2 separate regions of the Homo sapiens genome follow, and region 1 is linked to region 2. The links are contacts of gene promoters, found by promoter capture Hi-C in blood cells and fetal thymus (Javierre and others, 2016). All regions are on one chromosome and are shown on one strand. Each heading gives the region's core, a stretch centred on a gene start or on the middle of the fragment in contact. The rest is flanking DNA. Distances are from core to core; before and after follow the strand shown. Region 1 has its middle 63 kb from the start of MIR6130. Region 2 holds the start of NCAM2 (neural cell adhesion molecule 2).

The links. The method cuts DNA at HindIII sites, captures the fragments that hold promoters and counts their contacts. A CHiCAGO score of 5 or more calls a contact.
Region 1: a contact is called between a fragment that was not itself captured here and the fragment with the promoter of NCAM2 in region 2, in 1 of 17 cell types (endothelial precursors). The highest score is 7.1, in endothelial precursors.

What each region holds. Positions count from the first base shown.
Region 1 is chr21:23,013,285-23,018,518 of GRCh38, reverse strand. No RefSeq gene overlaps it. Among named protein-coding and RNA genes, the nearest start is that of MIR6130, 63 kb to the left of the region's middle. The HindIII fragment of the contact is 1,712 bases long and covers 1,019-2,730 here.
Region 2 is chr21:20,996,339-21,001,958 of GRCh38, reverse strand. It overlaps NCAM2 (neural cell adhesion molecule 2), which reads right to left and starts at 3,550. Exons shown (of 18, transcript NM_004540.5): 1 at 3,341-3,550. The coding sequence starts at 3,395. The HindIII fragment of the contact is 4,236 bases long and covers 2,621-5,620 here.

The DNA.
Region 1 (5,234 bases), core at 625-3,124, 2.0 Mb before region 2:
GAATCGCTGTATGTTTTCATCTTATTCCCAAGCAACTTTCAGCCATAAAACAAAGGTAAAAATGGAGAAAAAACAGAAAACCCATTCATGTCTAATGAATGAGGTCAATTAAATGCAAATAATTCATAATTTAGTATGTGACACATACAATATCTGGGGTTATAGTGACTATTTGTCCTTTAGCATGATTATCCACTTCACTTGCTCACCAGCAAAGCTATTCTTATTATATGCAATATTTATCCATTAAACACAGAACCACATAATTTTCTTTACCAATACCAGTGACATGAGAACCATTACACAGCAATTATTCATAGGAAGTGAGCTCAACATATTATAACTACATTAAGGAAGTTCCCACATATCTGAGTAATAGCTATATAATTTTTTTTCCTGAGATACAGCCTCAGAGTTTCTAATTCATAGATGCTGAATTGGGGAGAGAAACTATGAGGTTTTCTATACCCTGCAAGTGTGTTAATTTGCTCTATTTTAAAAAATCTAAAGGCCAGGACATTGGCTCATGCCTATAATCCCAGCACTTTGGGAAGCTGAGGCGGGTGCCTCCCTTGAGCCCAGGGGTTCGAGATCAGCGTAGGCAACATGGCAAAACCCCATCTCTACAAAAAATGCAAAAATTAGCCAGGTGTGGTGGTGTGACTGTAGTCCCAGCTACTCAGGAGGCTGATCAAAGGAGGATTGCTTGAGTCTGGGAGGTAAAGGTTGAAGTGAGCTGAGATTGCACCACTGTACTCTAGCCTGGATGACAGAGTGAGATCCTGTCTCAAAAAACAAAAAAAAAAAGAAAGGAAAAACCTCAGTCATGGTGAGTTTAAAATGCTTTTTAAGGTTCTGTTGATATTATAGTTAGTTAAAATAAGTCATAGACTCTTAAGTACACATCAAATGCAAACTTTAGTTTGCATGTGTATTGTGGAAGGGTTGTGAGTTTTCCATTTATTTCATGTATTTATAGACATCTTAGTAGTTATTGGGATAATCTTTCCTGGAAGCTTATAGTGATTGCTATTTATAACCAGTAATACAGGTTATATAATCTAAGCATAAATTTGTTCACTGTTTAAATATGAAAACATATATTTTTATTGCTTCTAATATCTACCGTTTATTTTATGTTTTACATTCTTTTTTTAAAATTAAGTTTTGTGAGTACATAGTTGGTGTACATATGTATGGGGTACATGATATATTTTTATCCAGGCATATGGCATATTTAAATGGAGATCTTTCAACCCAAACATTTATTTTTGTTACGACATTCAACTATACTCTTTTAGTTATTTTAAAATGTATAATATTGTTGACTATAATCACCCTGTTGTGCTACGAAATTATATTTGCTTTTTATAGAGCTCATTATCATTTGTCTTCATTATTCAATCATTTTTCATTTATTTTCTACGAATAAATTATTTTTCCCTTTTGAGGAACATAAAAATTTAATAATGTACTTCATGTTGAAAACTTGGAGGGAAGATAAATAGGTGATGATAGATACACGGATAGATAGATAAATGATAAAAAGAGAAATAGAAAGTAAAGCTGGGTGCTCTTAATATTTCATATGATCAGCATGATATTTGAAAAAATCATTAAAAATGACGAGAAAGTGGACAGTGAGTTGTTAGGGAAAGTTCACGTCAAGTAGGCCGAGGGCAGAGGAAGCCCATAGCCCAGAAGGTGGCAGTGTGTTTCACATATTTGACCAAGAACACACAGGACAACAAATGCTGGAGTAGTGTTGAGTGAAATGGGGAATTTTAAGAGGTTAAATGAAGGTCTAGATGTTGTAGGGCATTGAAAGTCATTGTGAACTTTATGGCTCCAATTTTGAAAGCAATGAAAAGTCCTTAGTTTGAAGCTGAGAAGGGACATGATGAGATGGTGTAGACATTGTGACATACAGGTCATCTCACACTTTGATGAGAATCTTGTTGCCTCAGCTACCAGGATAGTGATGGCAGGCAGACAGCCTTTACCTTCCAGGTAATTCAGAGTTTGCCACAGCTGCAGAGAGCTTGCCCAATATCATGCCCTTTTCAGGGTGCATCCCACAAGAATGGGCCTCTAAGCTCATCTTGGAAAACTTTGAGATAGCCCTAAAAGGTTTTTACAGCTCCAGAGCACCCAGTGAGATTGGCTGTGTCTGCAGTTGGGTCTTCTTTCAACTTTAACTTCTCCTTCTGCCTATGTTGCTTCTTTCTTCTTCCATCCATAGCTGCTAAAGGAAAAGAAACACCTTGATAAACCTACTGTGGATTAAACCCCATCTGAGAATCTGCTTATTGAGGAGACCAACTTCTGTGTATGTGACACAGGTCTTAACAGGCTAACTATGGTGGTTGTGTTGAGAAAAAAAAAAAGAGGAATAGCTAGAAGTAGAGAGAGTACTTAGGAGACTACTGAAATCATGCAGTGGTTTAGGTGTCCTGGACCTAGTTTACAGTAGATGAGGTAAAAAAAAAAAAAATACGCAGACAACTTCCAAATGTATTATCAATTTAATATCAAATATGGGGTGTGAGAGGAGATAACAGTCAATTGTGACTCCCAAATTTTGAAGACTAAGAAAAAAAGTTGCTATTAAATGAGATACAAAAGGCTGCATTAGAAGCAAGCAGATTTTGGGAAAAGTTCCTAAGTACAGTTTTGTCATTTTAGGTTAAGATGTCTTTTATACTGCAGAGTGCAAACGCACAAGAAGCTTGGAAATGCCAATCTGGAGTAAAGTGTAAAACAAAGCAGCAAACATAAAAAGCCGTGTTTACTCATTTCTGCTTGCCAGCATAATTTCACAATGCCTCTGGCTCTATGATGACATATAGGTCTCCAGAAAGATGCTTTGAAGACAAAATAGAATACAGAACATGGTCCCCTACGTCTCTTGCCTGAGCCACTACATTCTTCAAAAGATAAATGACCTAGGCTGGACGCAGTGGCTCACGCCTGTAATCCCAGCACTTTGGGAGGTCCAGGCAGGTGGATCATGAGGTCAGGAGATCGAGAGCAGCCTGACCAACATGGCAAAACCCCATCTCTACTAAAAATACAAAAAATAACCGGGCGTGGTGGCGCACATCTGTAATCCCAGCTACTCAGGAGGCTGTGGCGGGAGAATCGCGTGAACCTGGGAGGCGGAGGTTGCAGTGAGCCGAGATTGCACCACTGCACTCCAGCCGAGGCGACAGAGCAAGACGCCATCTCAAAAAAAAAAAAAAAAAAAAAAAAAAAGAAAAGAGAAATGACCTTAGCCTTTTCCTTTTCTTACACATAAGATTAATAATGTCTGACAGGGTTAGTTATTATGCTTCTGTAATCTAGAACTAAATGTACTCTTACACCCAAACCACAATGTGATTCTACTTTAATGTAACTTGTAAGCAGGTGCGATGTGATTTTGCAAGTACTGAACCTCCACCATGGGTATATAAGAAGTGGGCTGAAATACTGATTGAATCTGTCTAAAGGGCTGCTCCTGAGACTCAGGCTTCAGTCTCTTCTCCCCAGTAAGATTAATGAATAAAATTCACCTTAATTCTGTAACTTGATTTATTTTCTGTAGTCAATGTGAATATAGCCACAGGCAAGAAGTATACGTTTAGAAATCATACAGGTTTAGATTATATTTAAAAACAATGAAGCGGGTTGGGAACACAAAAGAGTGTATGTGGAAAGATAAAGGATTCAAGGACTCAGGCCTGGAACCCTTCAGTGTAAAGAGGTGAAAGAATTGAGATGAAACTAAGAAAGAGTCACTGAAAATGGGTTTCTGGTGAAGGAGGACAGTGGTATTTATGAGGCAAGTGAAGCAAATATACAAATGAGGAGAGACTAATAATGTGTGTTAAATTCTGTGATGAGATGAAGAGGACTAAGACTTTACCATTACATATTAAAAAGCAAGGATCCTTGGTGATATTGACAAGAACGGCGTTAGTGAAGTGATGCATTGGTCAAAAGCCTAAACACAGTTGGTTCTGATGAGAACTGAAGAAAAGCTATTGTGAACAGCAAGTAAAGGAAACTCCTTTGGAAGAGCTTTCTGTAAGGGATGTGAATAAATGGGTTAGTGATTAGTAGGAAAATTAAGTCCAGTGAAAGTGATTTTAAGATGGCTGAAATAACGACATTTTTGCCTACTGCTGAGAAACAGCAGTAGAGAGAGGGAGGTTGAAGCTGTCGCCATAAATAAATGAATCCGGATCAGTGACCTTCAGGAAATGAGAGTGTCTGTGATCTAACCTCTGAGAAGAGGCATATGGACTGCCAAGCCAAAGCAGCAGAAAAGAAAGTATAGAACATGAGGACAACCGTGGGTAGAAGGGTAAAAGTGCTAATGTGAGCTGATAAGAATTTCCTTCTTATCAAATCTATTTTCATTATCAGATAAGAAACAAAGTTGTTTGGCAGGAATGAAGACAGACAAGGAGATGTTGGAGGTTTAAAAAGAGAGCAGAAGGTCTTAAGTACAATTGTGAAATATTCATTTTTATATTCTAAGAACTCTTAAATTGTATTTGTAGTTGTGGCTTAATGTATTCTACAAATTAATTCATATCAAAATAATAGATTTATATATACTGTCCTATATAATCATTTGATAAGAAAATTGATTGTTTATCATCACAGTGTTAGAGGCAATAAAAAGATCTTTTACTTTCTCAGCAGCTTTCTTTTTAATCTGATGTTATGCTGGAGGCAAAGCATTGCATTGATTTTCCCAAGCAAATTGCTTATACAAAACTCTGGTAGCAACTCTTCTGGCAGTCCTTAGATCAATGATAACAAATAAACAGTATCTATGTCTTTTTTGAATTATTTGTTTGCAAGCTAGAGAAATAGGCTACCTTTAGCAAAATAAGGTAATTTATTGGAAAGATAATGGGACAACCCACAGAATCAAAGCAAAGGCTACAGAAAACAATTCTTGAAAAGGACTGAAGCAAGAGAACTGCTGTAGTTTTAATAAGTCAATGGGCAGTCTCCTCAGACAACAAAGACAGGATGGATTAACCTAAACAATGGCTCAACATATCTATATCTTTTACAGGGACTGTAAAAACAGTGAAACACTTGTTCGTTCTTCTTCTGCCATTGAAGGCTACTGCTCTGTAACACCTCATTAGCTCCAGGGTTGTGAAAATTCAAAGCAATAGAAGATTGTTTTCAGTTTAAAGCTGGAATTAAGCCATATCTTTTTGGTTTCATCC
Region 2 (5,620 bases), core at 2,301-4,800:
CTGTAATCTTCAAACTAGTAGACACTCACACACCTGTGCTCTATTTTTAGAAGGTACATTGCTGTAATGTACAATGACTTACTAGCACTTCACCAAAGAGAATAACTGTAAGCAGATGACTGCTTTAACTGATCAACTGGGCAATTCACCCCTCCTTTCCTCACGATTTTGGCTTAGGTAAGTGTTCTAAGTGGTACGTTTGAACTGCATTGCAAGAGAGATGAATAGCATTATTCTTACTTTAGGTTTTAGTATAACAGTGCTTCTATCTTACATATGTGAACATCCAGGAAAAATGCTTATTAATCATACTTGTTTAATTTTTAAAGGAAGAAGGAAGTGGTTTCAAAAATGTAAAAACTCTCACGAAAGCAATCCATACATACAACAGTTTGGAAATTTGAATATACAAAGATCCAAACAGCAAATGCAGTTAATCAGAAACTGAAGTTATCACTTGAGATTTATGATTACAAAGCCTGTGACCAAGTTTTGAACACAAAGGAAAAATAATTGCAAAAGTTACAGAATTACAGCATTTTCTTTCATTGACAATTAAATTCAGACTTCACAATAACATTCTAACCTTACTTCATTATACATTAATCTTGCAGTGGAAATTAGAGGCTTTTAAAGGAGTATTTCTGCTACAATAAAAAAAAGCGTCTTACTACTGTACAACAATAAGGTTGTATTGAGAGTTACAAGTAAACTATTAGGCCTTGTTAGCTAATTATAGTATTGGCATTCACTTAAGTTAGTCAGTTTCTCACTTAATGTCATTTTCTCCTATTCAACTGCTTCAGTTCAAAACGTTTTGACTCCTAAAAAGGGAATACATCATTGTTGCCTTTCCTCAGTCTAACTGCACACCACTTTCCAAAGCAATAGCTTCAATCATGCTTCATAAAATCCCCTGCAAGTATACTGTTGGACACATAAATCAGCAAGCTGAGATTTTAGTATTTCTAAGGCAAGACCAGGGATCACTGACTGGTGGCTTTTCCATGGCCCTCTTTACAAGAGAATAAACAAAATCATGAGTTACACTAGGTCTGTTTTTTTAAACAGCTCCCGGTGGTGTGTCTGATACTTGCTGCTGCATCCTTAATTAGAGAACAAAACACTAGCATAGAGGAATTGGACTCCAGGATGAGGATATCTATATCCAAGCATCTCTGACTTCATCAGGACACATGGCATAGAAGTACTATATGTTCCCTTTCACAAAAGCTACGTCTCTCTGATATATATCTGTGTCTCTATGAGTGCCACACATTGTGAAATTGTACTAGATAGAGAGATCTTTACAATGATGGTCTCCTTCTACCCTGTTTCATTACAGTGAATATGGGCTCCCCTTCAGAGATGCTTGTCTCAGAGTGCCTCTTCATAACCACCTCGTATCCTGACTTACAAATTAGCTGAATCACAATTTCACATCTATGTTACATGTACACATCCAAATTTTATGTCTCTGTGTACTATTTAAACCTATATATCTAAACATTTCTAATTTCCTATGTCTCCAAATTCCAACACACTTAGCCTCTACAATGATAAATTCAGATTCCACAACTGAGACATTTTTCTTCTCCAAACCACTCACAATGTAATCCTAAGTCTGCATAAACTTGTTTCCTATTATGCTCCCATTCTGCCCCACACTACCTACACTTATTTAATTGCAGTTGTATTTTAACTGCAATTTTCAGGGATTGTTTCTTGGTGCTCAAAAATACCTGTCTATGCTATAAATGAACAGTTAAACACAATCAGCAGCTATCTGAAAATTAAAGAAGCATATCTGTAGGACATATGTGCATGCTGATCTTTGCTTAAGAACCACTGAATTAACGAATTGGGCTAGTATTAGCTTCAGATGGACATATCTGCAATTTTGCTAAGACTGAAATATTTCATACTCTATGTTAGGAAGGGAAAATGAGCAGAATCTTATCAAGACACTTTACAAACTATAGGAATATCCAACATTTGCATACTGATTTCTGAACATTAAATCTGCATCCAATCGTGTTTCATCCGCCACTAACACTATAGCTGTGGGGAGGAGAAGGGCAGAAAAAGGAAGGCTTCACATCCAAAATGTCAAGCCCTGCTGAAGAATGATAGAAGGACTCTGTGGAAGAGCAGAAACCAACTTCTGGGCTTAAAATGGAGTTCTACCACCCCCTGCTGGACCAAACGAGCAATACAGAAGAGGCTAAAAATGCTTAGAACTGAATATCTTGGGGATATTTTAACTTGTCTTGTAATTTATTATATTATTTTAAAAAACCAATTTCACACTACACTAACAACATAACATTCTTTGCAATCATTACATATCTCAAAATTAGTGCTATTTTATTTTTCCTTTAAAGACTTTCACCAATGCATGTTTTAGCATTTTGTGTCCCTAATTAAACGTCCAAACTTGTCTGGACAGTTGAAAATGCTTCCATTTATTGTAAATATATTTCATGTGAGTGTTTACTATCTAAACAGCCAGATAAATTCATATCTATCTCTCTAGAGACAAACAGTGATAGCTTCCACAAATTCCCTCTCAGGTTATTCTACCAGGCTATTCATTTTTTTTTTTTAAGAGATAAAAGCTTCCACCAGTTCTCCCACAACCCCAAAAATCCTCTACAGGTGTAATTACAATGTAATGTTATAAAATGATTCCACCTTTCTGTATTAATAAGGGGTTGGGGTCAAAATGAATGACTGCAACACATCCCTAGTTTTATCCATTTGCTTTCTTACACACAATATCCACGGCCCCTCTCTTAGTTTCCAACAGAAATAAGCCATCATCATTCACTTCATAGTCAGGAATTAGGGTTTTGGGAAAGGGGTGGAAAAAAAAAAGAGTCTCCAAGAATCGAACGTCTTGCACACAGCAGATATTTTGCAAATGAGTTTAACACTGATAGTTTTTGCTGCTTCTGTAAAACACCATCGTGCCCTTTCCTTCCGCAACCTCAGATATTTCACTGTTAACACACTCATCCAATTTCTGATAATAAAAATAAGAGAAAGCCATAATCCCAGAGGAAAAAAAAAGAAGAAGAAGAAGCGGTTTCCCTGGATATCCTGCTCACCGATTCCCCTCTCCAATTCTGTATTTTCCCTTCTCTTATTTAAGGGTCTCCACACAACAGATACAATTTTAGGGACAGCTAGGAGAAAGAACGAAAATAATAATAACAACAACAGCAATAACTGTAACTTTAGTTCTTTCATTTCATTCTTCCTGCGCCTCCCTCTTTGCCTCTCTTGGCCGGGTGGAAGGGGGAGGGAAAGTAAATGCAATAAAGCGCCACACTCCTACCTTGCCCGCTACTGACAAGCAACCCCAGCAGGTAGAAGGAGAGGAGGAGGCTCATGTTCAGGACGTGACACCGGTGGACAGTTTCAAAGTTATTAAGTCCAGCCCTGGAGAGAGAACCTTTCGCTGCCCCGGCCGCCTCTGCTAGAGCCGCCGCCGCCGCTCCCGCGGTGCCCCAGCCGCCCGCAGCCCGCGCGCTCCTCCTCGCAAAGTGACTGCAAGCTCCGCTCTTGCCGCACTATATCCAGGCAGCGGCGGCGGCAGCGGCGGCAGAAGCAGCAGCAGCAGCGGCCGCCGCGGCGGCAGCAGAGCCGGGCGGGGAGGGCGGCGGGGGCGGGGGCGCGGCGAGGGGAGGTGCGGCCGAGGCGTATCCCTCCGCGCTGCACGGCGGCCGCTCTTCCGCGAGGCGCGCGGTCCCGGGATTCGTCCGCAGTGGAGCTCGAAGTCACGGGTTCGGTCCCCGGTGCCTCCGCCTAGAGGGGCGGCCGCGATCGCGAAGGCGCCACTCGCCCGCCGGCCATCCGCAGGTTCATGCACGCCCTGAGCCGAGAAGGGCGTGGGGATGGGGGCAGCCTGGAGCTCCTTCACAGCCGCCGGCTGCCTCAGGACAGCTGAGCTGATGCTGAGCTGAGCTGAGCTGAGCTGATGCTCATGCAGATGCTGATGCTGATGCTGATGCTGATACTGATACTGCAGGCGACCGCCCCGAGCGCGCCCCGGCTCAACGTGAATGGGGGATCTGGAGGCGGGCGGTGTGCCCCGCAGCTTATTCCTTTTGGGCGTGGGAGGAGGGAGATTCTTGTCTCTCCGTGGACCTCCTTCTCCCTCTCTCGCTCAAACCTGGAGCAGGCTGGCCCCTTGCGCGGCTGTCCCCTTCCCACGCTCCCCACCCCGCCGCGACAGAGGGGAAGCAATTGTACCCTAAAGTCTACACTGTCTGTCTCCTCAGGCGCTAAAGGGTGGGCGGAAAAATAACGTACAGAGTGTTTCCTCTACATCTCGACCCATTGCTGTTGGGAGCGGCACCTTACGGGAGAGACACTGGAGAGGGGACGAGCCGCGGGAGGGGCTGCGTTCAACTCAGCCTTAGCCTCAGCTGTGTCCTTAGAGGCCTGAAGTCTCTCCTGGCCTCACTCCGCGGGCTCTGCCCTCGGTCCCAGTGCGCTGCACTGGCCAGATCCCCGCCAGGAGTGCACCGAGGGAGGACTGCAAATGTGCAAAGATGAGTTGGGTCGCGGGGGGGAGACCTTCCCCAGATCAGTGCCCTACCCCGAACACCCACGTACCCGCGTGTGCGAGTGTAAATTGAAGTGAGGGAGCCGTGGCAAACGCCCGGAACTAACTCTCTGCTCCTTAAGATTGGGGCTTATCGTTATTTCTCCTAGAAGGGTAGGAAAACGTTTGTGAGATTAACGTCACCTCTCCTGCAAGAGCGGTTAAGAGGCAGAATCACCGGCCCGGGTGCGGAGCCCATGTCAATCTGGCCTGGGGTTACCGCGACCTGCAAACGCTGACGATGGGTCCTTTCATCTGCACTTTCTCTCTGGCTCCTTAGAAAACTCAACTGCCTCGCCCCGGCCTCCACAAGGACCCTAGCTCCTTCCTTATCAGTGAGGACATAGAAATAGCGGGGGTTGGAGAGGGGGGAGGTAGAAATGTAGAGCTCAGAATCCAGCCCCAGCCTGGGGATTTCACGCTGAAAAGGGCAGTGCATTGCCTTCAGGGAGGGCAGGGGGCAAGAGTAGACACAGGCTAACATGCATAGGGGAGATACCGTCTGCGATTTGTCCTCCCCAGGCAGAGCGCTTTATACAGATGATTCGTCCACTTGGCATCCTGGGATGGGGTTATCAGGAAGAGAGGAGGGGAAAGGCGGCCCTCAACTCACCATCGCTGAACTGCCTTAAGCAATGGCCCTCTCAGCACCTCACAGCTAGAGAACCTCTTATTTCCTCTTGATCTTATAGCAGACAATATATTTAGAAAGTTATTTTGCCACGGTACCCTTCTCACACCCTTTACTGGTTCTGGAATGCACTAACCACACTTAAGTAAACTCATGGTCAGCTCTTTGCAGGAAAGGGTGGAAGTAGCACATTTATAGATGTGAAAGACCGTGACTCATTTATTTACTCCAATTCTTCATTTCTCTTGGGCATTGATAAATGCTACACAGTAGGCCTTCTGCGTCCACAGTTCTACATCCTCAGATTCTACCAACCATGGATGAAAAATAACTTTAAAAAAAATGAAACAATGATACAATCAAAATAACGTAAATAA